Linked DNA regions of Homo sapiens: region 2 is linked to region 1. Evidence: promoter capture Hi-C in human tissues and cell types (Jung and others, 2019). All regions are on one chromosome and are shown on one strand. Each heading gives the region's core, a stretch centred on a gene start or on the middle of the fragment in contact. The rest is flanking DNA. Distances are from core to core; before and after follow the strand shown.

Region 1 (4,234 bases), core at 440-2,939:
TTTTTTAATTAGATTATTGCCTTTAGGGTGGAGCCCTTTAATAAAAAGGGGGAAGAAAACATAGGTTTTAGGGCCTCATATTTAAATGGGTAAAGCAGGCATAGCTGGAAGGCAGAATACAGAACCCCCCTAATCAAGGATCTCATTTTTATATTGAATCCTAGGCCCCCCAAAAGAGGGAAATGTCATGGGACGAGATGTGTGGCATTTTTATCGAGTGCCCCACTGTAAAGATGCTCCCCCAAGGCTGGCAGGCAGCCCAGTGCCGATTAGCCCACTCTGTGCTTAGTCTTTTTTTTTTTTTTTTTTTTGAGGTGGAGTCTTGCTCTGTTGCCCAGGCTGGAGTGCAATGGCGTGATCTCGGCTCAATGCAATCTCTGTCTCGTGGGTTCAAGCGATTCTCCTGCCTCAGCCTCCCAAGTAGCTGAGATTACAGGCACCAGCCACTATGCTCAGCTAATTTTTTGTATTTTTAGTAGAGATGGGGTTTCAACATGTTGGCCAGGCTGGTCTCGAACTTCTGACCCCAAGTGATCCGCCCGCCTCGGCCTCCCAAAGTGCTGGGATTACAGGCGTGAGCCACCATGCCTGGCGTGCTTAGCCTATTTTTAATGGGAGTTTCATCCTCAATGGTGAGTGCTTTCATTGTCTTTAGGTGCCCCAGACCATGTTTTTAAAAATTTAAATGCACGAAGAAATAAGTAGCCCTGTATAGTAGTAATACTTTGTTGTGAATAACTGTCATAAGTCATCTCTAAAACTGTATTTTTTATCTAGTTATTATATATGACTAGCTATATGTCTAGTTTTTTAAATAATACAAAGTAATTTATTTTTGGCATCCTCAAAAACCAAAGAGATTAGGTAATGTAGTGTAGAAGAGAGCAGAGCTTTAGACCTGAGAAGAATCTGCCCATGACTCGTGAAACTCCACAACGAAAGTAGGAGACCCCAAAAAAGGGGTGAGTGTCATCTTTTCTGAATTTTTTTTTTTTTTTAGATGGAGTCTTGCTCTGCCACCAGGCTGGAGTGCAGTGGTGCAATCTCGGCTCAGCCTCCCGAGTAGCTAGGATTACAGGCACGCGCCACCATGACCAGCTAATTTTTGTATTTTTAGTAGAGACAGCGTTTCACCATGTTGGCCAGGATGGTCTCGATCTCTTGACCTCGTGATCCGCCCGCCTCGGCCTCCCAAAGTGCTGGGATTACAAGCGTGAGCCACTGCACTCGGCCGGTCAGATAATTTTTTTGGCCAGTTTTTACATAGAGTAATTTTAGGTTTTATGGCTGGCTTTGGGGCAAAGGGGTTCTGGTTTTTATAGCTGGTCTTGGGGGAGAATGGAACCGAGTGACAAGAGGACAAGAGAGGGTCAGAGAAAAACTTCTGCTTCTGAGGCGGCTATTGAGGCCTTCATTTTGGAGTATTGTCCTCTAAGCCCCAGCAGTGTCAAACTGTACACAAACCATACACAGCAGCCAGCTCGGGTGCTGTTAGGAAATGGTCTCACTGCTGGGTCTGTGGGGTATGTGTGTGTCTGGGTGTGTGGCTACTGTCTGCATCCTCCTCCCCCCTACAGCCTCCCCGCCTCCCCTCCAGCCACCCTGGGATTGGTGACTCTCAGCCCCTCCCCTCAGCTCCCCTAGACCCTCCCAGAGCCTTTATCAGGGAGCTGGGACTGAGTGACTGCAGCCTTCCTAGATCCCCTCCACTCGGTTTCTCTCTTTGCAGGAGCACCGGCAGCACCAGTGTGTGAGGGGAGCAGGCAGCGGTCCTAGCCAGTTCCTTGATCCTGCCAGACCACCCAGCCCCCGGCACAGAGCTGCTCCACAGGTAGGCAAGTGGGAGAATGCTGGATGGACCAGAGCTGGCACCAGGGGACAGGAGCCAGCGTCAGGAGGGAATAAAGCAGATGGCAGCCTCTGATAGGGGAGCAGGGGACTGGGAAGGTGAGCACAAAGCACCTGTAGGGCCGAGAGCTGGTTGGTGTTTGGAGCCTGTGGCTACAGACTCATTCTTTCATACCAGAAAGTTTTTGCCTAAGTCTTGGGATTATCTAGTACTGGAAAATAGCATCCAGGATCCCTCCTCCAGCTGACTGAGGAAACAGACCAGTCCATGTCCTACAAATCTATCATCTTTCTTGGGAGCTAGAGTCCTCCTGGCACCACTATAGCATTGCACATCTCCTGGGGAGATATCTGATGGGGTAGCAGGGAAACTAAGCCCAAGGGCTGTACCCCCTTCTCAGAAATACTTTCCACCCTCTCTCCAGACCAGGGCTTGGACAGTGGAGTTGGGGGCTGGGGAAGCAGGGTCAAGCCAAGCTGCTGGTAATGAATGTCTCTTGTGTCTTCACCCATGCTGTATCTTCCTCTTCTCTCCTTTACCTGAGTCCTGTCCCTTTGCTCTCCCAGGCACCATGAGGATCATGCTGCTATTCACAGCCATCCTGGCCTTCAGCCTAGCTCAGAGCTTTGGGGCTGTCTGTAAGGAGCCACAGGAGGAGGTGGTTCCTGGCGGGGGCCGCAGCAAGGTAAGTCTCCCCTGGCAGAGTACTGGGGACATCACGGGAACTTGGGACTCTGCCTGTCTGGACAGCTGTAGTGAGGAAACTGGGGTGGGGGGGTTGTCCGTCAGAGGGCATTTTGCCTCCCTTTGGATTTCTTTGTTTCTCTGGTCCTTTCATGTTCCCACTGTCTCCAGGTGTGTTTGTGTCTCTGTATCTCTGCATGTCTTTGACACCTTGTACATAAAAGGTGCCCTACAAATATGTTGTTTGGTGGGTTGATTGATGGGAGACTTGGTGATTGGATGGTACTGTGAGGGGTGAGCTAGGGTGGTCTAAGGCTCTCTATAGTCTACCTCAGGTCCCTTTGCAAGGGACAGATCTCTTCTATTTCCTGGATGGTATGAAACAGTCAGAATTTCTTTCCCAAATGGTTATTTGTGTGCTATTTTACCTATCAGTTATGTGTATTGTTTTATTTTCAAAATGCAAATAAATTCCCTTATCTTTTGCTCATCCACCCCCAGTAACCTCAGGTGCTTCTAAGATCCCAACCCCTTCCTTCTTCTCTTTTCTCCCTTGCCCGCCTCTATCCTCTGCTTAGTCAGGATAGGAAAACAACAACAGCAAAAAAACCAGATTGAGCCTCGATTTCCACAGTTCCTTTACGAAAAAGAATAGGAATTGTCAGGGTAGGGGTACAGGGGGAGGATAGGGAGGAAGTCTTTTCAAGGTTTTGAAATGACAGCAATTACATCGGTACAAATGCTTTTAAGATGATTGCGGGTGGGACTTATTACAAATTCAATGTGTGAAGTTTAACTGCCTCTTCAGCTCAAATCTGTTCAGCATCTCATTATAGGAGGTGGGCAGAGTATTCAACAATTTGGGAAAAGTGGCTGCCTGAACACCACATGCTGGGCCAAGGGAGTTATCACCAGGGCAGCCTTGCAGGTGGCAGCAGTTGTGCCATATCCAAAAGGCCAGAACCGTTAAAAAAAAAAACACCCAGGGGAGTGCCAAGTATGGGCTGGACACCGTTTGGAGCCACAAAGTTCCAGCCCAGGATAGTTAGAGTATCTGAGTTCTTCTGAGACAAACTTGTTTCAAGACCTTGGCCAATGAGATGTCCCCTCTGCCCCTCTTGGTCAATGAATGAGAGGGATTGCCATCCTACCCCTTCTCCTTGAGAGTCTGTGAGGATGAGGGAAATTGGGGCAGGAAGAGGGTAGTACATAGGTGTGCCTAGGCAACTGGGTTGGTATGTGTGGGGGTGTGTTCTGTGTAAATGCACTTCTGTGTGTGCACAACAGCCGAAGGATGCCTGGGTTCTGGAAAGAGAGGCGCTGCTGAGACTTGAGATTTGAGATGAAAATCTCCAGCCATGATCATTGTTATTGTCTCTCTGCAGCTGCAATTAACTGGCTGTGTGGTGTGTGCCCACCACCCTGCTGTACGCAAGTTGCTAAAAAAAAAAAAAAAATCACAGGGACAATCAAGAGCCCGTGCTGGGCAACAGCTCTAGAACTTGGGATTCAGTTGTGGAGAGAAGAAGACGTGCCTTCTGAGCATGTTGCCTTCCTGGAATTCTAGACCTAGGGCCAAAAGGGAGAGGGAGAGAAAACTAGAGGCGGAAAGCCATGGAGAATAGAGAAAGAGGTGGTGGAAAACAGGGAGAGAAACATCCATGGACATCGTGCAGAGTGGGGGAATCACAGGTGCAGATG
Region 2 (4,234 bases), core at 1,145-3,644, 130 kb before region 1:
TCCACCAGCCAGTCTGGAGCTTAGCCGTGTTGTGTCACCTCGTTCTCCTGGGCTCTCTTCCTGCTCCTGCCTGTGATTCCAGCCTGTGGTTATGTCCTGCTACCTTCCCCTGCCTGGCTTAGGTCCCCAAGAGGCATTTCGACCTAGATCCCAGGGATGATGCCTGGATTCCACTCAGCCCATCTTAGGGTCTTCCCTCTATTGAGAAATCCTTGCCGGGCTCTAAAACACATCTCTCTTGCTTAAGTTACTTCCTTTGGCTTGAAAACAGCAAGGGGAGTGCTGGGAGCAGTCTGGGTGGAGAGGCAATTTCAAGGAGACAGCGGGGGAGGAGAGGACAGGGCTGGATCTGGGCCGGGAGACACAGGGCTGGCCCGGGCCAGGAGAGAGGAGGAGCAAGAGTGAGCTGTTAAATGATTAGGAAACTCAGAACAGGAATGGGAAGCAAAAGTGCCAGGATGCAGGGGGCCTAAGGCCAAAGAGTGGGGTGGCTAGAGCCACCCCTCCCCAAACAGCCTGGCATCCCATGGGTCAGAAAGGCCAAGGATGGGCATGGTTAGCTTTCACATGTGAAGTCTGGAAGTGCTTTGTAGGCAGGGTGGGAGGCTGAGAGGGTCCAGGGGTGCCCAGCACAGTGGGGAGGTAGCACCCCTTCCAGCAGCAGCAGCCAGTTCATTAGACTCAGAGGGACTGCTGTCTGCCCCTTCTTTGCCTCCCCTCTAGACAAATCACTACCCCATTTCCTGTTGTGATTTCGAAAACACACACACTAAAAAAATAAATAAATAAAAGAAAGGGAGAGGAAGGGAAAAGTGAAGTTGGCCAGCTGGACCTGGGACCCATTTCGCAACCTTGCTGCCTGCAGCCTAGGGGCCCTTTGCTGAGCTCCCCAGCCACCTCCTTCTTCCCCATGCAGCATGGTGCAGGGAGGGGAACCCTGAGACCTCTGAGAGCCCCTTCAGACCATCCTTTCACACACAGTCCAAACTCCTGAGTGACTTCAGCAAACCCGATTTCCTTCAAGGCCTCTATTTACAACCTCAGAACCTCCCCTCACCATACACACCCATGTTCCCAGGACCCCAATCTTGCAGTCTGCCTCATTCTTTCTACAGTGGTGGCATCCTCCAAGGTGAAGGGAATACAGATCAGAGGAGCTCAGCTTAGGAAATGCAGGGCTGGGCTGGGGTCGGTAGACTGCACCACCAGGCCTGCCCAGGGGCAGCCTGGCAGGAGGCTGGACAAAGCTGGGTTACAGGCTCCATAGGCCTCTGGAGCTGAGAGACTGGTCAGAGGTGGGGGTGAGAGTGCGCAGGCCTGGTTCCTGACTAAGGGACTATCAGGCCTGTTGATCCCTCTGGGCCTCAATTTTCAGAACTTTAGTCTTTTGTGTATCACTTTCAAAATGTCTACCATGCTTATGTACAGCTTGCGCTACTGTTTATTACCAGTTATTTCAATTAACTTACTTTTCTTATTTCGCTGCATGCTAAACAATTGCTGAAGTAACAGATTTGATGTGCTAGTTACAGGAGTTTCCTAATGCATATCAAATAAAAACGTAACTATAACAGTTAAAAAAAAAAAAAAAAAGCTTGTCCAGGTACCATCTAAAATCAAATCAATGCATAGCCCCTTTGAGAAAGCAGTAGTGAAAGCCAGGGCTGCTCTTGGTACTGGCCAAGGGTCTTGCCTTCTCTTCCGGCTCTCACCATGGAGTTCTCTGGTCTTGGAATTCGAGCCTCATAGACCTCCCCAAACCACTGGGCCAGCGGCAGAGGGGAGGGGGAGGTAATCTCAGGTGGGAGGAAAAGAGATGACCCACCCAATCCAGGGGGATAACACTGGGCCTGAGGCAGGAGGGTCAGCAGCCCTGGGGCATTGAAGAGGAATGTTCACACACTGCAGGGCCTCAGGGGGGCCCTCGGGGGCTCTCAGGACTCCACAACAGGTCTGACTCACATGGCCCAGGACACATGTGAACCAGGCTCATTTCCTGGCCTCCTTCCTTCTTTCTATTCTATTTCTGCTTCCAGAGTTTTCTCTGGGGCAGGCTCCCCCTTCTGCCTGCACCAGCGGGCTGGCCTCGCTGGCTCGAACACCCCTCAATTGTCAGACTCCTCCCTCTGTGTGCACCCCTGCTGCATGAGGCTCAGCCCCAGGGGTCCAACAGAGGTCACAGTCACAGCACAGAATGGAAGGCTTGCAGGGAGGGCTGCCCTGGAGGGCAGAGTGAAAGCAGGGGAAAGCTGCAGCCTTTCTTCTTCGTCCTCCTTGGGGAGCTAATTACAGGCCAGCAGCCACTGTGCAGGTGAGTGCCTGGGACCAGCCACCCTACACACCAGGGCAGGCCAGTCAGCATCTCCTGGGGAGGGGGATGACCCAGAAACTGGGGGAGGGGCTAGGGGAGAGACACTGACGTCCTCAGTTTGGGACCCATAATTAGTTTGTGGGAGAGAGCAAAACAACCATCCTCAGGGTGACAGCCAGACATTCAGGCGGCAGGGACGTGGAGCAGGGGGAGGGCAGGGAGGAAGGGACAGAAGCTGGGATGAGAGAAACCCACTCATTTACCCCACAAGCATTTCCCCTTGGACTCTTCTAGCCTCCTGGACTCTGCCCCTGAGAGGCCCAGTGAGTTTAGCAGACTGGGAGGCAAGGCAAATCTGTTTGCCAAGGGAGGGGTACCAGCTTCTCCTGGGGAGGAAGTCAGATAAGGAGATGAGGCCAGAGTAGAAGTTGAGAAGGTTACCTCCAGGACACCCCATAGCCACCTACCCAGAAGCCCACTGTATGGCAAGATGCAGGGCTGGGGAGGAAACTGACAAGCTGTCTGCCCAGACAGGCCTGTTGAGTAGGTCAGTGGACAAGGAACAGGGGGAGGGCAGCTGCACAAGAGGGTCTAGCACCAATCCCACCCCATCAGCCATGGGGTTCCCTGAGTCGCCCACTCGTTAAGAGCTCAGCCAACCAGGCTTGACAGCCCCCAGCTCAGCACCCCAAGGAGGACACATGTCTGATCACAGGTGAGCTGTGGACAGCAGCAGCCCAAGGACGCTATCAGGGATGCTCTGGAGGAGCCAAAGGCAGAAATGTGAACCTTACGCTGAGGCCACGGAGAGTGAGGGCTCTCAGAGGAACCCCTGCTCGCCACCATCCCGGGGAGGGGCCTTTCTCTCTCCCAGAATGAATCCCTTGTAACCTCCTGGGATCTTTCTTTTCATCACAAGAACCAAATAAAGAAACTTGAAGATCTTCTAGAGAGGCCCAAGGTTCACAATCCTCAACTTCAAAGTGTGCTGTCCTTTACCACTGGCTTTCACTCCAGTTAATCTGATCTAGACAGACAAGCTCAAACCCATTATGCAGATTAGGAAACCAAGGCAGAGATGGGAATTCTGGTTTACTAAACAGTTACAGATCAAGTTAATCTCCCTTAGGGGGTCAGATCAACCACAGGCCAGATTCTTCCTCTCAGCCCTGTGGTGCATTTCTTTGGAAATGTGATGCTGCCAGATGTTGACTTTTAAGGTTGCTGGTGTAACAGCCTCTGAGATGGGCAGGGCTGTTCCCGGCAGTGGGTCTACACCCAGCTATGCTCGTGCCCCTTTCTGTGACACCCCTTCTTCCACAACTAGGATAGCAAAAGTGTAGCCTAGGGAGAAGCCTGAATGGAAGCATCCAGGATATTCTAAAATCTCATGTGGCTCACGCTCCTCTCCCAGCCTCATTCACTGCCACAAAGCCACAGAGAAATAACCTCAGTACTGCCCTCCCCCGATGGCAGCAGAGAGTCCATTGGCAATGGTCCCCGAGGGAAACGATGGCCCATGGAGACAGAGCAGCTGGGCCCCAGCTCCTTTACCCTCAGCTGCAGCCTAACAGGGCACCTCAGGCTTCCGCTCCTTCTTTCCCTAGCCTTGGCTCCCACTGCACCGGAAAGTCCCTCTGCAGTCTAGTCAACACTCCCCTCTCAGAGAAGGGACAGTCCCTGGTCTCTGGAGATTGACCATTCACTGCCCCCTCAGCCCTTGGCCAGAAATGCAGGGGCCATCCAGACACTTGCTCAGAGAGCTGGGAGGGAGCGTGCCGGTGGCTCTGCCCCTGCCTCAAACACACACCATTGTATCCAGCCTCCTGCTTCTCCTGCCCCAGACAGGACCATCCTGTGTAACTCCCGGCCTCTGTTCAAGATAGGGTCCACCTTCCCTGTCTCCCCTACCCTCCCCAGCCC

What was found. The method cuts DNA at HindIII sites, captures the fragments that hold promoters and counts their contacts. A contact is called where the count stands out against the background at its distance.
Region 2: a fragment that was not itself captured here is called in contact with the fragment with the promoter of TAC3 in region 1 in 1 of the 25 tissues and cell types used here (pancreas).

The regions. Positions count from the first base shown.
Region 1 is chr12:57,013,984-57,018,217 of GRCh38, reverse strand. It overlaps TAC3 (tachykinin precursor 3), which reads left to right and starts at 1,689. Exons shown (of 7, transcript NM_013251.4): 1 at 1,689-1,831; 2 at 2,416-2,534. The coding sequence starts at 2,421. The HindIII fragment of the contact is 18,684 bases long and covers 1-2,147 here.
Region 2 is chr12:57,145,516-57,149,749 of GRCh38, reverse strand. The region is part of intron 6 of LRP1 (LDL receptor related protein 1); the gene reads right to left. It overlaps LRP1-AS (LRP1 antisense RNA), which reads left to right and starts at 2,131. Exons shown (of 2, transcript NR_131938.2): 1 at 2,131-2,311. RefSeq lists enhancers at 1-731, 2,589-3,517. The HindIII fragment of the contact is 3,961 bases long and covers 414-4,234 here.